Regions from separate parts of the Homo sapiens genome. Here regions 1, 2 and 3 are each linked to region 4. The links are contacts of gene promoters, found by promoter capture Hi-C in human tissues and cell types (Jung and others, 2019). All regions are on one chromosome and are shown on one strand. Each heading gives the region's core, a stretch centred on a gene start or on the middle of the fragment in contact. The rest is flanking DNA. Distances are from core to core; before and after follow the strand shown.

Evidence for each region. The method cuts DNA at HindIII sites, captures the fragments that hold promoters and counts their contacts. A contact is called where the count stands out against the background at its distance.
Region 1: a fragment that was not itself captured here is called in contact with the fragment with the promoter of TOMM7 in region 4 in 5 of the 25 tissues and cell types used here (aorta, hippocampus, liver and 2 more).
Region 2: a contact is called between a fragment that was not itself captured here and the fragment with the promoter of TOMM7 in region 4, in 2 of the 25 tissues and cell types used here (IMR-90 fibroblasts and spleen).
Region 3: a fragment that was not itself captured here is called in contact with the fragment with the promoter of TOMM7 in region 4 in 2 of the 25 tissues and cell types used here (hippocampus and psoas muscle).

What each region holds. Positions count from the first base shown.
Region 1 is chr7:22,871,623-22,878,182 of GRCh38, forward strand. It overlaps LOC107986776 (a long non-coding RNA gene), which reads right to left. Exons shown (of 5, transcript XR_007060249.1): 4 at 3,989-4,104; 5 at 3,069-3,570. Among named protein-coding and RNA genes, the nearest start is that of SNORD93, 18 kb to the left of the region's middle. RefSeq lists an enhancer at 1,007-1,116. The HindIII fragment of the contact is 6,914 bases long and covers 52-6,560 here.
Region 2 is chr7:22,783,552-22,789,363 of GRCh38, forward strand. No RefSeq gene overlaps it. Among named protein-coding and RNA genes, the nearest start is that of TOMM7, 36 kb to the right of the region's middle. The HindIII fragment of the contact is 7,103 bases long and covers 1-5,058 here.
Region 3 is chr7:22,856,753-22,862,776 of GRCh38, forward strand. It overlaps SNHG26 (small nucleolar RNA host gene 26), which reads left to right. Exons shown (of 5, transcript NR_146320.1): 3 at 221-264; 4 at 3,795-3,886; 5 at 4,134-4,684. Among named protein-coding and RNA genes, the nearest start is that of SNORD93, 3.2 kb to the left of the region's middle. RefSeq lists an enhancer at 1,758-2,957. The HindIII fragment of the contact is 3,477 bases long and covers 1-2,989 here.
Region 4 is chr7:22,820,905-22,827,625 of GRCh38, forward strand. TOMM7 (translocase of outer mitochondrial membrane 7) reads right to left here and starts at 1,945. Exons shown (of 3, transcript NM_019059.5): 1 at 1,773-1,945. The coding sequence starts at 1,875. It overlaps LOC112267993 (a long non-coding RNA gene), which reads left to right and starts at 2,053. Exons shown (of 3, transcript XR_002956543.2): 1 at 2,053-2,795. RefSeq lists enhancers at 1,426-2,186, 1,856-1,935, 1,966-2,175. The HindIII fragment of the contact is 34,135 bases long and covers 1-6,721 here.

The sequences.
Region 1 (6,560 bases), core at 2,259-4,758, 52 kb after region 4:
GGGAAGGATATAGTTTACTCTATCTATCCATCTATCTGCTTGCATATCTATCTATTCATCCCTCATCTAAATATGTATCTCTACTTATCTATCTCTCCAAATACATATATTTTATTTATGCAGTGAGATCTGGTGGACTTTAATTGCAAAATAACTTGAGAGAAAAGAGAATTAATTATAAGAAGTACAGAAAAAGAAACAGAGCAGAAGCAATTCCTGGACTGTGCTGTACCAGGCAGATGGGCAATATAGTCAGTATGCAGTGTTGGCTCTTTCTTTGGGAGAATGAGGTCATATCTACTGGCAAGGCCCCCTTCCCTTTATTCCCACTATACTGCTTGGGAATTTCTGATTTAAAAAAAATACTGTTGATAACAGAAATGACCAATTCATCATATTGTCTTGACCAAAGAGCAGCTCATACTGTGACACACTTGCCTCTCTAGTATCTCTGGGGAGGATGTTCGTAAGTGAGATTGGAGGAGTAATCGCCCCCCAGGACCGTGGGATAGGTTGTGCACGTTGTATACTGCACAGTCCCATGGGGGTGTTAGTCTCTCTGAATGGAGTCCCCAGAGTTATGCAGTGCACAACCTGTGTATAAGGCAGCCCTGCCTGCCCCCACCAATAAGATCAGCCATATGAACTGCATGACCAATGGCACAGCTGGAGCCCTCTCATTTGTCACTGTTTCTAGGCACATTTGCAGATAAAATGTTGAGATTGTGATCAGATTATGATCAGAACTTTCAAGAGTTCTGGAAAGAAGAGTTCTGGAAAGAAACACTGACATAAAGGAGAAGAAAAGAACAGGAACTCCCTCTGAGTTTGCATAACTTTCAATGTTCACAGCCTCCTGTTGCCTTTCTAGGAGGTGCCCTACTGTGTATTGCTGGGGTCGTATAGCCAATTGGCGAACTAGCTGATAAACCCTGGACAGAAATAGAAACTACAAGAAGTGAAACAAAGTTCCATCCAAGAATGAAACAACAACTGATCACGTGAGATGCCCATGTCATCACTTGACCCACAGACAGGGGAGCAAATATATTGATGATCTGGTCCTCCTGCCGGACTGTTGGTATTCATCCCTGTAAGTGAGAGGAAGGAAACATTGCAACTTAATGGGTGAGTCCTTCCTTCTGGTGAATTTAACATCATGCATTTGCTAGATTTGCTAGCCATGCAGTTATGGTGAAAACAGGAAAGATCCCTTTGGGTTTAACTATAGATTAGCCATAGGATTTGCAACCAGGAAAAGACCTTCAAGATCAATTCTATTGGAACATGGACAATTAACATAAATAAACTGAGAAACAGACAGACTGTGTTACTTGTAGCTAATTATTTTAACTCCCATCTCAGCACTCTTTCCCAACACAACCCATTATCTTAACAACTATAATAGTACTAACAGCCATTATTATAACCAACATGTTTGTCGGGGAGAAAGGTGACAAGAGGAGGGTAGAGGACAGAATTAGTTGAACACTTACTCTGTGCCAGGCGATAGTTTTAAGCTTTCTACATCTATTCATTTCAATCCTCACAACAACTCTTACAGGTCAATAGTGTTTCCCTTTCACAAGTTAGGAAACTGAGGCACAGATAGGTGATTTTATTTGTTCAAAGTCACAGAGAGGGCACATGGCTGAGCTGAGATTCAAACCCAAGCAGTGTGACTATGAAGCTTATTATCTTAACTATTCCACCATCATCGAAGGATATATTTACAAGATTTTTTAATTGTAATAAATTCTGTGCTTTATCTTTTTTTAAAAAAAAAATTTAATTAACAAAGAATAGGAAGACTTTCTATTCTTCACCCGGAGATGGACGATACCATGTTACTTGGCTTTTATCCACATAGCTGTCTTATTTTAGGTGCTGTTATTTGAACCAGAGTACATCCAAATAAGTGTAGTTTAAAAGAAATCATGATTATAAGGGGTTCCCAGTTTTTGCAAGGCATGATTTCTATAGACTCCTCCTTAATAGCTTCCTTTATCTTGGCCATCCGTGCTCACAAACATTTTCTAGCAGAGTACCAACCGCACAAATAGAGAGTAGGATGAGATCTTCAGCTTTAAGTTGGCAACGTGTATATATCTCAATGTGAATGATCCAAGTTTTGCAAATGGGAGAAAAAGCAAAAATGCCAGATTCTTTCATTTAACTCCATTATTTAAAAAATTGTGTTTACCTTTATTATCAATGATAATTGACAGTTACGCTTGAAAATGAATTTTTTTTTTAAAGTGGAAGCTTATCACTGGCCAGAATTAAGAAATATAAATCTTTTTTTTTTTTTTTTTTTTTTTTTGAGATAGAGTTTTGCTCTTGTTGCCCAGGCTGGAGTGCAATGGTGCGATCTCGGCTCACCACAACCTCCACCTCCCAGGTTCAAGTGATTCTCCTGCCTCAGCCTCCCAAGTAGCTGAGATAACAGGCATGTGCCACCACAACAAGCTAATTTTGTATTTTTAGTAGAAACAGGGTTTCTGCATGTGGTCAGGCCATTCTCAAACTCCTGACCTCAGGTGATCCACCTGCCTCAGCCTCCCAAAGTGCTTGGATTACACGTGTGAGCCACCCCACACAGCCTTCTTTTTTCTTTTATAGAGACAGTGTATTCCTGTGTTGCCCAGGCTGGCCTTGAACTCCTGGCCTCAAGCCATCCTCCCACCTTGGCCTCCCAAAGTTCCAGGATTACAGCCATGAGCCACCAAGCCTGGCCAATAAATATTTTAATTTATTTATTTTCTAGGCCTAAAATTGCCAAGGTACCTCTGTGATACATTTTGAGAAGCTTCTCTCCTAAAAGTACAGCCTATATATATATATATATATATATATATATATATATATATATATATATATATATATTTTTTTTTTTTTTTTTTTTTTTTTTTTTTGAGACAGAGTCTTGCTCTGTTGCCCAGGCTGGAGTGCAGTGGCGCGATCTCAGCTCACTGCAACCTCCACCTCCCGGGTTCAAGCACTTCTCTTGCCTCAGCCTCCCGAGTAGCTGGGACTACTACAGGCGTGAGCCACCTCGCCTGGCCTATATATTCTTTAGATAATACAGTACCAATCATTTTTTAGGCACTTCCTACATGCAGACATAGTGTTAAGTGCTTTCCAAATCCTATATCTTATAGAATCCTTCCCAAAGCTGAGCTGTGTGTGTGTGTGTGTGTGTGTGTGTGTCTTTATTTCCCTCATTATACAGATGAGGAAAGTCACGTAACTTGCCCTGGAGTATGCATCTAGTAAGAGGCACAGCTGATTTTAGCTGAATTCAGACTCAAACCCAGGTCTCATTGACTCCAAATAACATATTCTTAAAGGCTGTTGTCAGCCTCTCTCAGAGCCCTGATTGCCTTGTCAGCTCTCTACTTCTCAGCTGATTAGAGGATCAGTACCCAGGGCGGTACCACTCACCAACCAGCTGGCCTCTGTTGTCACCCGTCAGCTCACGATCCAGTCCCTCTGGATGGTGACGGTCAGCGCCGTGCCGGCCAGGTTTGCCAAGGCCACTAGGGTGGTCACCAGTGCACAGCAGGCCACCTACCGAAGGAGGGGAAAGGGTGTATGGAACCCAAGAATAGATTTTCCCGCCCCACTGCAGTGCATAAGGTTATTTATCTGACAGCTCAAGGAACATCTAAATGAACACAAAGACCTGAGAGAGAAAAAGATTCAATGTAGGTTTGGAGCCCAATTCTACTGTGTTAATGCTAAGCATTTTCTTCCTCCCACCCCATCAGAGCCAGAGCCGATGCTAATTTGCACCTTGCAGACACAGACTCTGCTGTTCTATTGCCTTCATGTCAGTGGGATTTCAGCTCAGACTCACAAATTAGGGGAGAGGAGGACACTGAGGAAAGATTAGCCTGATCCAAAACCAGTGAGCGTGGCCACAAAGAAAACACTAACTGGTGGACATTCAGGGTGTCTGTGACGTAGGGACATGGGAGACACTCACAGTGAGCCAGCCATCCCAGATTTGTTCCATCTGCCTCTTGTAGGGGAGCACAAGCATCAGGACAGTGCAACAGGCGGTGACGGAGGCGTTCTGCATGCAGAGCGAGGTATAAGCAACTGTGAATGGAAACACCCAGCCCAATCTCTACTCTCAGTTTTAACAGGCAGTTCACAGCTATATCATCATTTAATGCAGAGGAGGCTGGGTGCGGTGGCTCACAACTGTAATCCCAACACTTTGGGAGGCCAAGGCGGGCAGATCACTTGAGGTCAGGAGCTCCAGACAAGCCTGGCCAACATGGCAAAACCCTGTCTCTCCTAAAAATACAAAAATTAGCCAGGCGTGATGGCACACACCTGTAATTCCAGCTACTCGTGAGGTTGAGGCACGAGAATCACTTGAACCTGGGAGACGGAGGTTGCAGTGAGCTGAGATTGTGCCACTGCACTCCAGCCTGGGTGACAAATTGAGACCCTGTCTCAAAAAAATAAAATATAATAAAAAATAATGCAGAGCAGTTGCATTAGACCAAATCCCAGTGCAACCAGGGTTAGCATTTCCATCGGTGATCACAGGCTTAAGAGGCAAAGAGCAGACTCTTGAGCTCACTAAAGACAAAGCCTTTGCAACCAAAAGAGAAAAAAGCTGTACTTTGCAAGTGAATGAAAACATATCTGAGAGACGGATCATATGAAAAGCTGGATTCTAGGTAAGTCAAGAAACTTAAAATGTTCTAGTGCTACATCACACTCTTCTGGATTTAATTTGTAACTGAATTTACCAATTTAGCGTAAAGACCAGCACACCAGATTTTCAATCAGCTAGTCTTTTCAATGGTGTGGCTTCAGAGAATGCCTTTCCATGGTAGAAGGAGAAAAGTCCTACCTTCCATGGTAGAAGGAAGGCAGTCACGTTGACTAGAAATCAAGGAATAGGAAAAACTTAGGATAGCCTACATTCTTATTGGACAAAGACGCTTAAAGAGATAGTATAGCCCAAAGCTAAAATAGATCTACATTTGAACAAATAAGTCTCCAGATATTAATGACTAGTTTAGACAGATTACCCAGTACAAAAACTCATTTACACAAATAAATTGCCTCTGATAAAAACAACACAAGTATATTATGCATAGGTAATGCCAAAATATTAAAAAGAAAGCACTTTTCAGGAATTTGATATTAAAAACCTATACTTAGCAAAAATCTAAAAACTACATTAAAATATTTTACATGTAGAATCAGAGAATGATGACACAAAGCTGTATAACTTCATCTAGAGTTTTTAACTTATGCTCTTTTGCTATTAAGTTCATAGCAATTTATGAATTTTATTTCACTAAATAAACCAAAAAAGCCAGTGAAGTCATAATGTACCACATAAATATGTATGTCACAGTTAAGAGTGTTACCTTTATTTCTTGGTTTCTTTTCAATCCAATCACCAATTAAGACCCCAAATATTAATACATATCCAGCCACCACTAAGCCAAACACTGCTGATAAAAGCAGATTATGTCCATATAATTCTACCAGGAAGACAGACATGGCAAAGTGCCACATTTGATCTCCCTGCAAGGCAGTACAGGCAAAGCATGTTTTCATCATTGACCTAAAAGATGGATCAAAGTTAAAATCCAGAAAGATGCATTTCTCCCCAGGGACATGTAATATGCAGGATTACAAGACAGAATGTCAAAATTATACTTTTATGCAGTACATCTATAACTTTATTTTTGTGCAATATAGTTATAAATTTTAAAAGCTGGAGAGAATGTATTTTAAAATCTTAAAAGCTCCACAGAGTCAACAAGCTAATGAGAAAATATCAGACAAACACTTGGAAGAACATGAGACCTCCAAGAACAAAGCCCACAATGCCCTGAGGACATCTGCTGATTCCGAAGCAACAGCTGTGAAATACAACAGCAGGTTTGTTGTCCTCAGAAAGACAGACTATGGAAGTCCATGCTACCAAAGATGGGGACTGAGATAAACCAGTTCCCATTTTAAGCTGAGATTCCCATGTAATTACATCCTAAATGTAAGCAAGGGTAAACCTGAAGTAAACTGACCCTCACATGGACTTGTAGTCCAGTTCTGCCTCATCCCAATGGGCCAGGAAATCTCAAACCTTGAACATGGATTAAAGTGTTACCAAATGACTAGTGTCCACTATGCATCTGGTAGAAGCTAGTTAAAGTTATCTCTAAAGGAAGATGCCACCATCTTAGGCTTCAAAGTATTCCTACAATAATAATAATAAAATAAAAATTTTATAAAATAATATACAAATTATTATCATTATTATGTTGAGACTGGATCTCACGCGTTCTCCCAGGCTGAGTGCAATGGTGCAATCATAGCTCACTGCAGCCTCAACTTCCCAGGCTCAAGAGATCCTCCCACCTCAAGCCTCCCAAGTAGCCAGGACTACAGGCATGCACCAGGATGCCCAGTTATTTTTTTTTTATGTATAAAAAAGATGGGGTCTCACTATGTTGCCCAGGCTGGTCTCCTGGGCTCAAGCAATACTCCCACCTCAGCCTCCCAAAGTGTTGAGATTACAAGTG
Region 2 (5,812 bases), core at 257-2,756, 38 kb before region 4:
TGATTTGCCTGAGGCAGAGGGTCGAGCAAGAATCACAGATGACCTCATGAGTGTCTCATGCTGCAGCAGGTCATAAAGACAAGTAAGATTGCTGTCAGCAGAGATGAGGAGAGGGCCTCCCAGACCCAAGAAAGAGTGAGGGCCACGATGCAGAGGAATGATGGTTCTGGGGATATGAAGAACTCCAGCTTGACCGCACCCTGCGATGAGGTGCCACAGTGGAGAATGGGGTTATGAGGACAGGTTGGGACACCATAGCGTTCTGTGAGATTGAACATGACAGCCAGGCAGTGCAGAGCCATCTAAGCTTTGTGAACAGCATGTCTGAGGAAGTTTACCAAAGACAATGTGAAGGCTGGCATGAGATGGGGAGAACAGGGGCAAATACAGGAAGGAATCATGATTGCCAAAGAGAGATGGGGGCCTGAAGTGATTCAGGATGCACAGGGGAAAGAAGAGATCAAAGGAAGGGACAAATATAAATGGAAGGTATTACGACCATAGTGCTCATGACAAAGAACCACATTTATCACTCAGTTCCACATGTACCAAAGGAAAATATCAGAAAGATGTCATGAGCTCAAATTAATAGTGATCTTTGGTAATTTACAAAAGGATAGAAGCAGTAAGATGAAGTAACACAAAGCACGTCTCTTACAGACTTCTAGAATTAACAGGGAAAGTAGGAGATGTGGTGCAATTACTTATCATCTGGGTAGGTGAATTTCAGGGGAAGAAAATCTCAGCAATATGCATTTAATCAACATATACTTTGATATCTGCTTTTGCCTAAGAAGTTCAGTAATGTCTTACAAATTGTGTTATGTTTCAGCATATCAAGTTCTGCTTGTAGCTCACTCACAATCATCCAGCACAATGGGGAATTTATCTTGCTGGTATTTCCAGGGAGACTGGGAAACAGCCAGTACAGATCAAACCTTTTCACATCATCACACTATTCACTCTACTGGTTAGAGATAACAAAGACAAACACAATAGGGAATGGTCAATTTATAGCAACAAGGACGAGGCTCATGTTTCTTCAGCATACTTCCTAACATGTCAGCAGTAATTACCACATATTAAAATAAGCCAGACTGGGCACAGTGGCTCATGCCTGTAATTCCAACACTTTGGGAGGCCAAGGCAGGAGGATCACTTGAGACCAGATGTCCAAGACCAGCCTTGGCAACATAGCAAGATTCCATGTCTACTAAATAAATAAATAAAAAATAAATAAATAAATAAATAAATAAAAACAAATAGCTGGGTGTGGTGGCATGTACCCATAGTCCCAGCTACTCTGGAGGCTGAGGCCAGAGGATCGCTGGAGGCCAGAAGTTCAAGGGCCCTGTGAGCTATGATTACAGAACTGCACTCCAGCCTGGGTGACAGAGTGAGACCCTGTCTCTAAAAACAAATAAATAAAATTAGCCATTTCAGTAAGCATATGCTCCCAAATTAAGAAACCTTGTTCCTTATTCCATGACAACTTCAGGGGAAAACATATTTTTCCATTTTTTGGAAGTTTTAAGACATATATGCTCAATGTAGAAAATAAAACCAAAAATAAGAGCATCCTCTGGTGTATGCTAAGGTTGTAAAAAAATTAAAAAAAGAAAGAAGAGCTAATATCCTCCAATATACTATGATTAAGATCAATATTTACTCATTGTTAATCTTTGGGAATACTTCCTTCTAGTTTTATTTCTGTGCTTTTTAAAGAAACATGTTGGCCGGGCGCGGTGGCTCACACCCATAATCCCAGCACTTTGGAAGGCCGAGGCGGGCGGATCACGAGGTCAGATCACGAGGTCAGGAGATCGAGACCATCCTGGCTAACACGGTGAAACCCAGTCTCTACTAAAAATACAAAAAAAATTAGCCCAGCGCGGTGGCAGGCGCCTGTAGTCCCAGCTACTCGGGAGGCTGAGGCAGGAGAATCCCTTGAACCGGAGGCGAAGGTTGCAGTGAGCCGAGATCGCGCCACTGCACTCCAGCCTGGGCGACAGAGTGAGACTCCGTCTCAAAAAAAAAAAGAAAAAGAAAAGAAACATGTTAAGATTACATTATATTTGAAGCTCTGAATTCAGGGCTAAAAAAAAATTAGACTACAAATATGTTGCATTCTTGTATTTTGTTTTGCTCATCATAACAAATATTTCTCCCATTGTTGAAAGCTGGAAGACTCCACTCACAATCCATATTTCTTTAACAAGACAAAGAAGCGAATGTGTATTAATTTAGTAGTGTAATGGGGACTTCCAGTTCCCAGTCCAACATTTAAAGAGCTTGGAAGTCATTGTTCTCATCTTCACAACAAAATGACCTTGTGTAATTCCCTCTTGAGTGTGGGATGGATCTAGTCACTTGCTTCTAATGAATCAAATATGGCAAAAGTGATATACCACTTTTGATATTAGGTTACAAAAGACTGTAACTGACTTCTGTCTTGCTAAATATCTCCCTCTCTTTCTCTCTGGTTCTTTTTGCTGGCTTGTTCTGATGCAAGCAAGCTGCCATGCTGTGAATTATCCTATGGAGAGGTCCACATGGCAAGGATAGAGTTTAAAATCAGCAAGGGAATTCCCTAAATCTGAGGTTTGATGTTTTCATTAATCCTGAAAAAAAATCTCAGTCATTATTAACAAAGGGCATAGGCCAGGTATAAGATTCCAGTTGTCCTCTCCCAATGGAGTTGCACAGACAGTGCTAAATTCTCCCAGCAATGATGTGTGACAATAGATGTGAAGTGTTGCCTACTAGAAAAGCTCACCCAAAGGTTGGTATCCAGGGCTTTTATGGAGTAACCACATGACTAACCTTAACAATGTAAGTCTCTAGTTGCCCTCAGAGGTCAAATTGGTAAGGCAGTGGCCTAGGCCCTCAGGCAAAAAAACAACAAAAACAGGTGTTCATCTTAAATTACATTGTTAATATATAATATCCAGAAGGGCCCATGGCCTCAGGTATACAAATAAACTCTCATGGTGGGATTTTACAAGGGCTTGGAGCTTATCAGCAGGTGGTCAAAGTCCGGTCCTAAAGACATTTGGAATGTGTGGTGTTTGGACAACCCAGGCCTGCTGCGTTAACTCTTTACTGCCATCTGCCATCCTGCCTGCCTTTACTGACAGGAAGCCATCAAGGAAATAGTTGCCTAGATAGCAAAGAGCTCACCAGATGGTACTGGAATTGGGTGCAGTGCTCCCTGGTGCTGTGTGCCCCTTCCCTATGCAGGCAATATGCCCTCAGTAGAACATGTGCTAGAATATGGCCATTCAAGCAGGAAGGGCATCAGTGTTCCTAGCAACGTGGCTGAATAGTCCATCAGTGTGAAGATCTTGCAGGAGGTTCAAGCCCAGGTAAGGTGTTAGGTAGAGTGTGAGTTTACTGCCCTAGAGTGGCAGTGTGATGCAGAGAAATAAATTGTAGGTTTAGAATGAGGACACCTGATCCTGTCATTTTTTCCAACTGGCTTTAGGACCCTCATCTGAAATATTTTCCTATTTATAGATGGGAGGCAATATTGCGTAGCAAGCAAGAGTGCTGGCAGGGCAAGTTCAGTGGGAAAGCAACTTGCGCAGGCACAGAGAGCCCTGTACTCAAAATAACCCTAACCACGGTTTAATGCTCTGCTGTCACCATCTTGAACAATGTTCAAACAAGGAGCCCCATATTTTTGTTTTTCACAGGGCCCCATAAATTATGTAGACTCTCCTGGTGCCAGGTCTGGAGTCAGCCTATGGGTTCAAATCCCTGATCTATCATTTTTAGATGTATGAACTAGGGCATAACATCTAATACCTTTTAGACTTGTTTCCTTGTCTATAAACAGGATTTTAAAAGATTGTTGTGAAGATTAAGGAAATAATATATGGAAAAATATAGCGTTGTATATACATAAATACAGTCATTCCTCAGTATCCATGGGGGATTAGTCCTAGGACCCCCTCAGGTGGCAAAATCCATGGACACTCAAGTCCCTTATATAAAATATTTACACATAACCTATGTACTATCCTCCCACGTACTTGAAATCATCTCTAGATTACTTATAATACCAAATACAATGTAAATGCTATGTAATATTTGTTATACTGTATTTTTTAATTTGTTGGGTTTTTTTTATTTTATTTTACCAGGGAGGCCTGAGAGCCTAGAAAATTTTGTATTATTTTTCATTGTTGTATTTTTTTTATTATTGGGGGTAGTTTTTGTTGTAGTTTTCAAGGCATGGTTGGTTGAATCCATGGATGTGGAACCCATGGATACAAAGGACCAACTTTAGTCATGGGTGGTAACTATTATTTGTTCTCAACAATAAATAACAATAAAATAAAATAATATAAATAATAACAATAAACAATAATAATAGCTATCTATTGCTTTGTAACAAATTACCCCAAAACTCAGTGGCTTAAAACAACAACACTTATTATCTCATGGTTTCTGTGGGTCAGAAATGCCAGTGCAGTTTAGCTAGATCCTCTGGCTCAAAGCCTCTCACCAGACTGCAATCAAGGTGTCAGCCAAGGCTACAGTCATCTTAAGGTTGAACTGCAGAAGACTCTGTTGCCAAGCTCATGCACATGGCTGTTGGCAGGATTCCTAGTAGACTGTCAGAATGAGGGCCTCAGTTCCTTGCTGGCAGTTGGCTGAAGGACACCCTCTGTTCCTTGCTATGTGGCTCTCTCCTTAGGACAATTCACAACATGGCAGCTTGCTGGCATCAGAACAAGCAAAAAGAGCCAGGGAGAGAGACTGAATCAGACAGAAGTCACAGTCTTTTGTAACCTAATATCAAAAGTGGCATAGCATCACTTTTGCCATATTTGATTCATTAAAAGCAAGTGACTAGATCCATCCCACACTCAAGGGGAGGGGATTACACAAGATCATTGTTACAAACTGAACAGAATCATCCTAAAACTTAAATGTTGAAGTTCTAACCCCTAGTACCTTAGAATGTGACTGTATTTGAAGATAAGGTCTTAAAAAGGGTAATACGGCTAATGAAGGTATATAGGTGTGCTTAACTCCAATATGACTGGTGTCCTTATAAGAAGGGGAAGGGGCTGGGTGCAGTGGCTCATACCTGTAATCCCACTTTGGGAGGCGGAGGTGGGATGATAGCTTGAGCCTGGGAGATTGAGGCTGCAGTGAGCCAGGATCACGCCACCGCACTCCAGCCTAGGTAACAGAGCAAGACCCTGTCTCAAAAAAAAAAAAAAAAAAAAAAAACAAAAGCATACCAAGGATGCACGTGCCAGTGGAGAGGCCAGGTAAGGACACAGTGAGAAGATGGCCACCTACAAGCCAAGGAAAGACACTTCAAGAGAAACTAAAACTGTCAACAGGTCTGGTTGGACAGGTTTGATCTTAGACTTCTAGCCTCCAGAACTGTGAGAAAATACATTTCTCATTTAAGCCACCCAGTCTGTAGTATTTTGTTATAGCAGTGCTGACAAAAAGAGTCAAACTCTGTAAAATATTGTAAGAGATTTATTCTGAGCCAAATATGAGTGACCATAGCCCGTGACGCAGCCCTCAGTAGGTCCTGAGAACATGTGCCTAAGGCGGTCTGGGTACAGCTTGGTTTTATATATTTTAGGGAGGTACAAAACAGCAATCAAATATATTTAAGAAATACATTGGTTTGGGCCAGGTACGGTGGCTCACACCTGTAATCCCAGCACTTTGGGAGGCCGAGGTAGGCAGATCACAAGGACAGGAGTTCCAGACCAGCCTGACCAACATGGTGAAACCCATCTCTACTAAAAATACAAAAATTAGCCAGGTGTGGTGGCGG
Region 3 (6,024 bases), core at 1-2,500, 35 kb after region 4:
AAAAGGGAAAAAGCTCTTGGTAAATGGATAATACTACTAAGCCAAGAGAAAGACAGGATTTTGAGTGAAAACATAAATTTAGATGTCACAACATTACTAAAGCAACAGTGTGTAAGATACTGGACGATTTTATTTACTTACTTGCACAGTTTTTGTAAACAGTCTAGACAGTACTGTATTTTGCTATTTAGTAATACCTACTGTGATACTTCTTTTACAGGTCTGGCGCTTGAAAGAATCAGTGAAGCTTTTCAAGTAGAGGAGGTATATTTGAATATGTAACCTTTAGTATCTACAGAATAGAGGTTGCTTTTTTTTTTTTTTTTTTGTCCCTTTCACAGTGGTAGCAAGGTTGAATTTTGAGATGGCCCCAATCATCTATAGGAATATTATTTGACAGTTTTGGAGACACAAAACTGCCTTATAGCTGACTTGATCCTGTAGAACATTTCTGTGGAATTCAATTCTATTATTTAAGGTAGTTTTTCCATGAACCAGCTGTGGTCTGTAACTTGACAGTGTTAATAAAACAAGTAGCAATACCTTCATCATGGTTCACATGGTCAACAAAGATATGACTTAACTCTAAGATTGTTATTTTACAGTATAGTCTTTTTTTTTTTTTTTTTTTTATAATAGATAGTTTCACTCTTGTTGCCCAGGCTGGAGTGCAGTGGTGCAATCTTGGCTCACTGCACCCTCTGCTACCCAGATTCAAGCGATTCTCCTGCCTCAGCCTCCTGAGTAGCTGGGATTACAGGCGCGTGCCACCACACCCAGCTAATTTTGTATTTTTACACATTTTTGTTTGTTTGTTTGAGACGGAGTCTCACTGTCGCCCAGGCTGGAGTGCAGTGGCACGATCTCAGCTCACTGCAACCTCTGCCTCCCGGGTTCAAGCGATTCTCCACCTCAGCCTCCCGAGTAGCTGAGATTACAAGCTAATTTTTGTATTTTTGTAGAGACAGGGTTTCACCATGTTGGCCAGGCTGGTCTCGAACTCCTGATCTCAAGTGATCTGCCTGCCTCGGCCTTCCAAAGTGCTGGAATTAATAGGGGTGAGCCACCATGCCCGCCCAGTATATTCTTTTTTTTTTTTTTTTTTTTTGAGACGGAGTTTTGCTCTTGTTGCCCAGGCTGGAGTGCAGTGGCATGATCTCAGCTCACCACAACCTCCACCTCCTGGGTTCAATCAATTCTACCTCAGCCTCCCGAGTAGCTGGAATTACAGGCATGTGCCACCACACCCAGCTAATTTTGTATTTTTAGTAGGGATGGCGTTTCTCCATGTTGGTCAGGCTGGTCTAGAACTCCTGACCTCAGGTGATCAGCCTGCCTCAGCCTCCCAAAGGGCTGGGATTACAGGCGTCAGCCACTATACCCAGCAGTATATTCTTAAATATTACTGTTGAGCCATATATACGACAATGGTGGACTTTGAATGTCCGCACATCTGTAGTAAAATGCAATGCTACCTTCATTTTTTGTTGGTATGCTAAAGAAATTTTAAGTATCTCACTTTTAAAAAAATAGGTTTGTGTATTTTATGTGCTTACACATTTTTCCATAGTACTGTAGATCATTTTAGTGATGAAATTTGATACTTTTGACAGAAAAACAGGTCAGTGAGTTCCTTGGGATCAAAAAGGGGTTGATTACAAGGGCAGGAAGGAATTGTTAGTGTGATTCTACAGTTCTGCATCTTGATTATGGTATGACTGTGCGTTTGTCAAACCTTAACAGGATGAATTTTGCTGAATGTAAAATCATACTTCAATAAACATGACTTTAAAAACTTAACCCTCCTTGGCATTTCAGTGGTGTTTCCAGTGAAATCTATGGCAAGATGGTTTGGGGTCACTATCTACATGAACTGCCAAGTTGGAAAATCAAAAATACATCAAAATCACTCTTGGGACATAAGTCACGGAAGTGACTCATGCACACAATAAATACCCAAGAAGCAGGACCAGACGGCAGTTGTGTATTGGCACGCTCATCAGTGCTGCAAAAATTCCCCTTCTGGATGGCAACAACAATGCTGTATCCACAGCAGCATTTTAAATCTCACCTCTGATGTATCCATTGTTGTGGGCATGAGATGGCAGAAAGTGGGATATGGAAAATGTTGCCGTGCGCCATTCCGAATACTACTGTGGCTTCCCTGCAGCATTACTTTCCATATTGGCTGTTTTCCATTTCAGGAAAGCTTAGGATGTCCTTGGTAAATACTGGCTAACCAAGAAATTTGAAAAATGAAAGGAGGCTGAGTAATTGGTCTTGGGTTGAAACGGGGTGATGCTGCATAAACTACGTGGTTGACTCTGAAAAGCTGGCTAAAAAGCCAGTCTGCATTCCTTGTCCTCATTTCCTTGGAGTAATGAAGGGTGCTTCTTAGAAGAGGGATAGATTCAAGTATGGGTTGTGAGTCATTCTTCTTTTCTGTATGTAATAGGTCTAACCACAGGGCCTGTTGAGCCCTGCCCTGGTGACCAAGAGCATTTTCTGACATGAACAGAGTTAGGCCATCTTGCCCGTATGAGCAGAGTTCTTCAGATGTCCCTTAGGATTCTAGGTTTCATACCTTCCCTGCCACTCCCCCACTACCAAATCCCCTTACCCTATAGCCTAGCAATGCAGAGTTGTCCAATATAGAACCTCTGTTAAACATAGCATCACCCAGGAAAATGGGATGAGTGGTTGCAGTCAGTACCACAGTTCTGCAGAATCAACTTGCTTACCTTAGTACATTGCCTGTCTACGTGTTTAGCAGAGCTAAAAGCAGGAATGGACTGTTAAACTACCATCCTTTTGTGCTCAAGTGCCATGAAGAGAAGCAAACCTGGAGTTGAAAGTTTTCAAAGAGGGCTTCCAAGTGAGGAACTTGGGCATGTGAATCTTTAATTATGACTATAAAAGAAATTGTGATTGGAAATAGAATTTTTATGCTAGTGGTTATGATTTCATTGAAAATAGGAAATCTTATTTAAGAACTCTGGTCACAAAACCTCCCCAGATAGTGACGTAAATAAGACCCAGTGTAACAACTGTGGCATTGACATGTCAGTTCATGTAGATTGAGTCACAATTTGATTTCGAGAATGGCCATATCCCATTTTGTCTTACTCCATGGTGTTCCTGAGCACTTGGATACAAATAGATTCTGTTTCCTAAAAGTAGCCAAATCTTTGTAGTTCAAGTGAATATTCCAGACTAAAATATGTGTCTTTTTGAAGGTCCTTAAGCCTTACATACTTAATTGTGTAATTTGGCAAATATTTGCTGTTGTGTTGTGTCAAGTCCTGTGATAGAGACAGTTCCTACCTTTCTGGAGCTTTCACAGTGTGACTCATTTCAGTACGTAAGTCGGAGCCAGTTTTAATAGAATGTTCTCTGGTTGACTTCTGTTGTAAGGAATAATTTCATTTCATGTCTGGGTCAATATGTGAAAGATTAAATTATTAGGGCAAACTGAAAAAAAAAATCTAGTTTTACCCCCCCACCACCACATTCCCAAAATAATTTAGCATGGTTTATAACAAATATCAAGCAACAATAATTAGAAGCAGATAAAAGCTCAGCAAGTAGAGGGCAAGAATAAAAAACCTAACTGTTAGATCTCATGCTGTAGGCTCCAGCCAAGTTGTCTCTGAGCTTCCTAAGAGCAAAGAGCCAACTGGCAAGTTAGTAATCAGGCAATTGCCATAATTTTCTAATGGAGGAGGGGAGTGGTCATGTGCATTCTAAGCTCTTTAAAGCCGAGGAGTAAGCTTTCTTTCCTTCATGATCTCAAGTACTCTACTTTGAAGAAAGGAATGGAACAGAAGGTGTCTGCATAACTAAATGGGGATCTAGAGAAAGTGGAGACTGCCTCTGGAGCAGGGAGGTGAGTGGACCAGATCACTGTGGGCCTGGGCCTACTCAGCTGATTTTCAAGCTAAAACCAGGGGTAACTTTTCCTCTTGAGACGAAAGCCATGCTCACATTCTGTGAACAGCCAGAGATGTGTTCGAAAGGCTTACTTTTATTTTGTACTAGAAAAGATTGTCTTTCCAAAATTTACCTCGTATTCATAAACTGGAAAGTTCTGATGGCAATATTTTGTTACAAAATTGTCATTAATCACAATCCAGGATTATGCCACCATGACTAGAAGGCCCCCTAATGGAGTTTATCTGCACTGCAAGGGGCCAGTTGTCTCAGAATCATCCTCCGTTGACATCTCCATCTCCAGGACAGCTCCACACTAATCTGTTTCAAAGACAAAATCCAGTCTAATCAGTTTGATGTATGTTTCTGGGAATAGAGCCGAATGTTGTAGCTGATGGAATGGAGTCTCATACCATTGATTTTGCAGCTGGACAAGTGCCCTGCCATGTTACTGCCACTCTTTAAGGCAGAATAGAGCACATTGTATCATTTATAGGCCTCTCACAGTGAGAAATATGTGGAACTTTGGAAATCAGAATCTAAAACTGCAGTCCAATGGGGTAGCCACTATTCACATGTGCTATTGAGTACCTAAAATGTGGCTAGACCAAGTTGACATGTGCTGAAGGGTGAAAAACACCAGGAGTGAAGAATTAACTTGAAAAAAATGTAAACTATCTCAATTTTATATTGATTACAAATTAAATGATGTTTTGAATATATTGAGTTAAATGAAATACATTTTTTAATGATACATGATGCGTATTATATTTCTGTTGGACAGTACTGGTCTAAAACAGTTGATTCACTATCCAGTAGAGAGAAAGGTATTGCTGTTTTACCATATGTGACCTTCAGGGAAAAGAAGAATAAAATTAGCACTTGAAAATGGAAAAACTTACAGATAAGCAGCTATTATTTGAAGGGCAGAAGGTGCAGGGGTACTCAGCACTACTTAGAAGATTTGACATAAATTCTATACTCAAGTTGCTAGTACTTCTGGAGATTTTAAATGAAAGACTTCAGAGTGTATTTAGTAAACACTCTGCTATGCCCACTCTACAAGCATCTGTGTGTTCATTAATCAAGAGCAGGCCAGGTGCAGTGGTTCTCACAGTGGCTCCCACCCAGCACTTTGGGAGGCCAAGGCGGGTAGATTGCTTGAACTCAGGAGTTTCAGACCAGCCTGGGCAACATGGCAAGACCCCATCTCTAAATAAACGTAAAAAAAAAAATTTTTTTTTTTTTTTTTTTGAGATGGAGTCTTGCTCTGTCACCCAGGCTGGAGTGCAGTGGTGGTCTCGGCTCACTGCAACCTCCACCTCCTGGGTCCAAGCAATTTTCCTGCCTCAGCCTCCCGGTAGCTGGGATTACAGACGTGTGCCACCATGTCTGGCTAATTTTTGTACTTTTAGTAGAGACAGGATTTCACCATGTTGGCCAGGCTAGTCTCAAACTCCTGATCTCAAGTGATCCACCCACCTCGGCCTCCCAAAGTGCTGGGATTACAGGTTTGAGCCACCATGCCTGACCCCAAATTTTTTTAGTTAAGAGCAAAAGGACTTGGTATGCTACATCTCATCAAAATGCAACTTCCTTAATGAAGAACCATATAAAGGATAGTTCTAGTTTCTTTTTTTTTTTTTTTTTTTTGAGACGGAGTCTCGCTCTGTCACCCAGGCTGGAGTGCAGGGGCACGATCTCGGCTCACTGCAAGCTCCGCCTCCTGGGTTCACGCCATTCTCCTGCCTCAGCCTCCCAAGTAGCTGGGACTACAGGCGCCCACCTCCACGCCCGGCTAATTTTTTCTGTTTTTAGTAGAGATGGGGTTTCAACGTGTTAGCCAGGATGGTCTCGATCTCCTGACCTCATGATCCACCCGCCTGGGCCTCCCAAAGTGCTGGGATTACAGGCGTGAGCCACCGTGCCCGGCCAGTTCTAGTTTCTTGATCCCTGATCTTAGTGTGTGTGTGTGTGTGTGTGTGTGTGTGTGTATACTAAAGTGTCTTTCAGGGTTTTGGTTTTTTGATTTTTTTTTTTTTTAATGGAAGGGGAGAGATTGTGGGAAGTGGCACCATAAATCTTACCTTGTAT
Region 4 (6,721 bases), core at 695-3,194:
AACCACAGCTGCTTAGTCAGAGTGTACTTTATCTTATACAATGCATGACACCTAAATTAAATAGGAAGCAGCACCTTGTTAAAACCATAGCATTTTAAAATGTGAAACTGAGTTTTACAATTGTCAAACTATATGCTCAAACTGACACAGCTGGGATGAAAAACCTGCTCTTTCCCTTTCACCGAACTGCCTGAGTGGGGCAGTAAAATTAAAAAGAAAAAACTTGGCCAGGCACGGTGGCTCACGCCTGTAATCCCAGCACTTTGGGAGGCCGAGGCGGGCGGATCACGAGGTCAGGAGATCGAGACCATCCTGGCTAACACGGTGAAACCCCGTTTCTAGTAAAAATACAAAATATTAGCCCGGCATGGTGGCGGGCGCTGTAGTCCCAGCTGTGCGGGAGGCTGAGGCAGGAGAATGGCGAGAACCCGGGAGGCGGAGCTTGCAGTGAGCTGAGATCGCGCCACTGCACTCCAGCCTGGGCGAGGCAGACCCCGTCTCAAAAAAAAAAAAAAAAAAGAAAAAGAAAAAACTACAGCCTGGCCGCGGTGATTCACACTTGTAATCCCAGCACTTTGGGAGGCCGCGCGCGGGGCGGAGGCCGGCTGGAGGGGAGGTAGCTAACTTGAGGCCAGGAGTTTGAGGCCAGCCTGGCCCACATAAGCAAAACCCCGTCTCTACTAAAAATATAAACATTAGCCGCGAGCGGTGGCTGCAAGTCTGTAATCACAGCTACTCGGGAGGCTAAGGGGGAAGGATCGCTTGATCCCGAGAGGCAGAGATTGCGGTGGGCAGAGATCGCGCCACTACACTCCAGCCTGGGCACACAGCGACTGTCTCAAAAAGGAAAAAAGGAAAAAAAAAGACAGAAAAGAAAAGAAAAAACTACAGAATAGGTCCCAGTCTGCAACCCTAACTGAAAAATATTAACAAATCCTTGCAGTAAGTGACCGAGCCTGTTGGCACCAGCCTGTAGTCCCAGCTACTTGGGAGACTGAGGTGGAAGGATCGCTAGAGCACAGGAGGGGAAGGTTGCAATGAGCCGGGATAGCGCCACTGCACTCCAGTCTGGGTGACAGAGCGAGACTCTGTCTTAAAAACAAAAACCAAAAAAACCCCAAATCCTTTAAGTGCGCTATAATGGTTAAGACTATGGGCTCTGATGCCCCACTGCCTGAGCCCCTAACTCCCTCAGTCAGCATAGCTGTGCGACCTTGGCAAAAAAGTTTCTCTACGGCTGTTTCCTCACCTGTAAAATGGGGGCAGTAATAGAAATCATCCAAACCCTTCATCGTACAGGTAAGAAAGCAGAGGCATCCAACGACTATTATTATAATCATGCTTTCATGGCAGTGGTACTTTCACGAGGTGTCTCGATTCCCTGAACAGGACTCTTTCCACTTAGGACCACATGGAGCGGTGAGGAAAAACACCCCGAGAACCACCTAGTGCTAGAGAGTGAATTAGTGACTTTCACATCCACTGGGGTCATCCAACCCTCCCTACAATCCCGAGAAATATGACCTCCACTTTAAGGATGCAAAAATAGAAAAGGAGGGATTGCAAGACTGCTTAAAGACCATGCAACTATAAAGCGATAGAACGGGAACTCGAACTCAGGTTAGATCGGCCCCACTTGACCAGACAGCCTCAGGGGCCGTGCACGGCAGTGTCCCCTATTTTTCTCTCCCTCCCCCGACGGCCAAAAATGGGGCTGCTGTCTCCGCCACCCTCTTCCCTCCAGTCACTTTCCCGGTTCTTCTCCCACTGACCCAGGTAAATCACAAGAGGGATAAAGCCCCAGCGAATGGCAAACTGGCTCCCCTTGAAGAGCTGCTGTAGTCTCTGCTTGGCCTCTTTGCTCAGCTTCACCATGGCGACGGCCGTGTGGCGCAGGGAGGACCCCTTACAGCAACCACAGCGTCGGGAATCCGAAAGGGAAAGGAGGTGCGCAGGCGCCACACACGGCCTTTACGGCAGGAGTCGTGAGCGTCGCCAGCAGAGGTCGTAATTCATCGCCTTTAACCTTCCCTGCTCTTCCGCCTCGCCGGCAGTAGTAGGCGCATGCGTGGTTGCGATCATGGCTGGCGGTAACTTCGCGTTTCTGTTACCCATTTTTAAAACGCATCTTCAGGTGTTCCTTCCTTCTCATGGAAGGAACATTAATTAAATTCAGAGGGACTGGGTTTTAGTCCTAACTCTTATTCCTACTGGCTGTGTAACCGTGGACAAATTATTTAACTTCTCAGAATCAGGTTGTTCAAACCTGAGGTTGAACTGCAAAAAGGTTACGAAGTGACACTCAGTAGGGCCCGAATCCATGTTTTCTTTGATCCCAATCTTTTTTAAAAAAATTTCTTTTAATTACTTGCCAACATTTTAGAATTTGGAAATCTCACATGAAATTCTGGACTTTTGAAGCTGAGGAATTCCATTGCAACAATCAAGGAGACTAAATAGGAAATGACACTTCTGTTTGGCCATCTTGCCCTCATTGGTTTAGAATGGCAGTGGTTCTCAACCCTGGCTGCACATTAGAATCACTTTAGGAGAGGTAAAACCATACTCACGCTGGAGACCTACTCCTAGAAATTCTAAAGAGTTTGGGGCTGGGAACTGGCCATTGATCTGCCTTTGAAGTTTCCCAAGTGATTCCCAACCTCTGATGTAATAAATTTCTGGCTGCTGTCGTATTTGAGATTTGACCCCCCCAGGTCTAAGACTTAATTGATTTTTAAGGCTGTAAGACATTTCTAAGACTTTGACTTTTAAGACTTTCCTGCCTCATTCTGAAGGTACGTAGTCGTTTTCTGTGCCCAATGTCTGTGCTCCTAAAAATTTCCCCTTGCTGACCTCTGTGGCTTGCGCCTGTAATTCTGGCTATTTGGGAGGCTGAGGCGGGAGGACCACTTGAGTTTGATGCTGCAGTGAGCTGTGATTGGGTCACTTGCTGTAAGCTCCCAAAGGGTTCACTTTGCCCGCTGCCTGGACAGAGCCGATTGATCAACACTGGGGAATTACAATAAAGAGTAATTCACGCAGAGCTGGCTGTGCAGGAGACCAGAGTTTTATTATTACTCAAATCAGTATCCCATAGCATTCGGGGATCAGAGTTTTTAAGGACAATTTGGTGCGTGGGGAGACAGCCAGTAAGTCGGAAGTGCTGATTGGTTGGGTCAGAGATGAAATCACAGGGAGTGGAAGCTGTCTTGTACTGCCTCAGTTCCTGGGTCGGGGCCACAAGATCAGATGAGCCAGTTTGCCGATCTGGGTGGTGCCAGCTGATCCATTTTGCAGGCTCTGCAAAGTATCTCAAGCACTGATGTTAGGCTTTACAATAGTGTTATTCCCAGGAGCAATTTGGGAAGGGTCAGAATCTTAGTTCCTGGGTTGGGACCACAAGATCAGATGAGCCAGTTTACCTATCTGGGTGGTTCCAGCTGATCCATTTTGCAGGGTCTGCAAAATATCTCAAACACTGATGTTAGGCTTTACAATAGAGTTGTTATCCCCAGGAGCAATTTGGGGAGGGTCAGAATCTTGTAGCCTCCAGCTGCATGACTCCTAAACCATAATGTCTAATCTTTTCGCTAATCTGTTAGCCTGTATACCAAACCTGCACATGCACTCCCTGAAACTAAAGTAAAAGTTGGAAAGAGCAAAAAAAAAAAAAGAAATAGTTTATGTTTTGGTGGAGCTCAGATAACAACAGCAAGGGACAATATAATGACTAAAAGCACAAACCAACTGTGTGATCTTTGATCAATTATTTAATATCTCTGAATCTCAGTTTCCTTACCTGTAAAATGAAGCCAACTATATATATTTAAATCCTTACAAAATTAGTAAAATAAGCTATAATGCACTGCAATCTTACAAATTCCTGTAAGGATTAAAAGAATTTTTTTAGGCAAGAAGGGGATTTGTTTAGGGAAAGGGCTGTTATCATCTTTGTTTTAAGCTATAAACTAAAAGTTCTTTCCAAAGTTAGTTCAGCCTATGCCCAGGAGTGAACAAGGACAGCTTGGAGGTTAGAAGCAAGATGGAGTTGGTGATGTCAGATGTCTTTCGCCGTCTCAGTTATAATTTTACAGTGGCAGTTTCATCACTACAATCCAGCCTGGGCAACAGAGTGAGACCACATCTTTAAAAACAAGAAAAAAAAATTCACCTCATATTATAGTGTTCTTCTGCTAGGCTCATCATCATGAATAATAACAACCTGTGTCTACTATGCCTGTCACTGTGTTAAGTGCTGAAAAATAGTTCTTTTTTTTTTTTTTTTTTTTGAGATGGAGTCTTGGAATGTCACCCAGGCTGGAGTGCAGTGGCACGATCTCGGTTCACTGCAAGCTCCGCCTCCCAGGTTCACGCTATTCTCCTGCCTCAGCTTCCCAAGTAGCTGGGACTACAGGCGCCTGCCACCATGCCCAGCTAATTTTTTGTACTTTTTTTTTTTTTTTAAGTAGAGATGAGGGTTTCACCGTGTTAGCCAGGATGGTCTTGATCTCCTGACCTCGTGATCTGCCCGCCTCGGCCTCTCAAAGTGCTGGGATTACAGGCGTTAGCCACCGCACCCGGCTGAATAATTGTTCTTTTAATCCTTACAGGAATTTGTAAGATTGCACTGCATTATAGCTTATTTTACTAATTCTTGTAAGGATATATATGGTTTCATTTCACAGATAAGGAAACTGAGATTCAGAGATATTAAATAATTGATAAAAGATCACACAGTTGGTTGCTCTTAGTCATTATATTGTCCCTTGCTGTTATCTGAGCTCCTCCAAAACAGAAGCTATTTCTTTTTTTTTTTTTTCTTTCAAACTTTTACTGTAGTTTCAGGGAGTGCATGTGCAGGTTTGGTATATGGGTAAATTGCATGTTGTGGGGGTTTGGTGCATAGATTATTTTCTCACCCAGGCAATAAGCATAGTACCTGATAGGTAGTTTTTGGATCCTCACCCTCTTCCCACCCTCAAGTAGGTCCCCATGTATATTGCTCCCTTCTTAGTGTCCATGTATTCAATGCAGAAACTGTTTCTCATCTTTTTATTCAAATACCTCATACATAGTAAGAATGCAGTGAATGTGGCACTTATCCTGCCAGATGGGCTAAAAATACCAAAGTCATTTGCCTTCCTCAAACATTCATTGAGCCTTATTATATGCTAGGCACTAGAGATATAAGATTTTTTTTTAAACTGCCCTTAAGAATATCATGGTTGAATGGAGAAACATGAGTAAACAGATGATTCCAATGTAATGTGAATATATATACTAAGTCCCACAATAAAGTTATGCTCAAAATTTGACAGAAAGGCAGAAGAAAGACAACTAACACTGCCTAGAGGAGTCAGGGAACTTTTGAAGAACCCCATGCAGTTAAACTAGAGAGAGGAGTAAATTTGAAAACCATTAAGAAGGTGAAATCAGCAGGACTTGTCGGCCAAATGAATATGTAGGGCAACATTGAAAGAAGTAGTCAAGGATGACTGTCAAGTTTTGAGCTTGTGTAACATACTGGGTTAATCTTACTCCTTGACCTCCACAAAGTCTAAATTATGTAGATTTGATCCAGGACAGGTGAGCCCTAAAGTGGGTCTTAGCCTGTGGGTTCTTGGCTTTACCCAGGGAAGAATTCAAGGCCAAGCTGGTGGTAAAAGAAAACAGCTTTATTAAAGAGGTGTTACAGCTCCATGACTGCTCCTGCAGATATAACAACTCAGGGCAGTTTTTCAGTCGTATTTATACCTACTTTTAATTACATGTAGATTAAGGCAGAGTTTATGCAGTAATTTCTAGGGAAGGGGTAGTAACTTTTGGGTTGTCATGTCACTGCCATGGAAAGGGGTGGTAGCTCCCCGGTGTTACCATGGCAACAGTAAACTGACATGGCACATAGCACACATGGCACATGGCACATGGGAGGTGTGACTTATGGAAAACTGCTTCCACCCTGTCCCTGTTTTAGCTGGTCCTCAATTTTGTCCAGTGTCCAAGCCCTGCCTCTGGAGCTCAGTCTTGCCTCCTACCTCACAGTAGAGATTCACCTCTACAGTAATTCCCACATATACAGTTGGAAATGGAGACAACATTATAATGGCCAAAAGTATGTTATATTCCTTGGATACATTTGTTGTTGAAGGAAAAAAGGTTGAGAACCTCTCTTCTATTCTTGATGTGCCCTCCTAGTTCAGCTCCTTATAGCCTAAACTATAATAGCTGGAAGCTATCTCGTCTACCAGCCTCTAGTCTCCACCTTTGCTATATACTCTATACACTGTAGTTAAGATCAGGCTTCTACATCATTGCTCTGCTCATGTCACTCCCCTGTTCAAACACCTCCAGTGAGTTACCAAGGGCTACCTCCCTAAATCTGTTTATCTTCTGAAAATAAGTGTACTTCTCAGAATATTATTGTGAGAAATAAAAAAGTTAATATATAAAAGATCTTTGCAAATTTTAGAGTATTAGATACATAGTAAGTAACATCATAGTCAATGATAAAAGACAGTACCCAGAAAGTGCTAAATGAGTGGAATCAACAAAAAAAAAAATTAAATGTGTTAAGAGGGGAGAGCTAGCCTTATGAGCTAAAATACTCAGGAAAAACTTCACAGAGAGCATAGTTGGTCTTGATGAGCGTTTACAGATCCAGAAACTCAACTTTATCTGGTTGAGACAAGATTGAGGTAGGAGGCAGGACTTGACTCCAGAG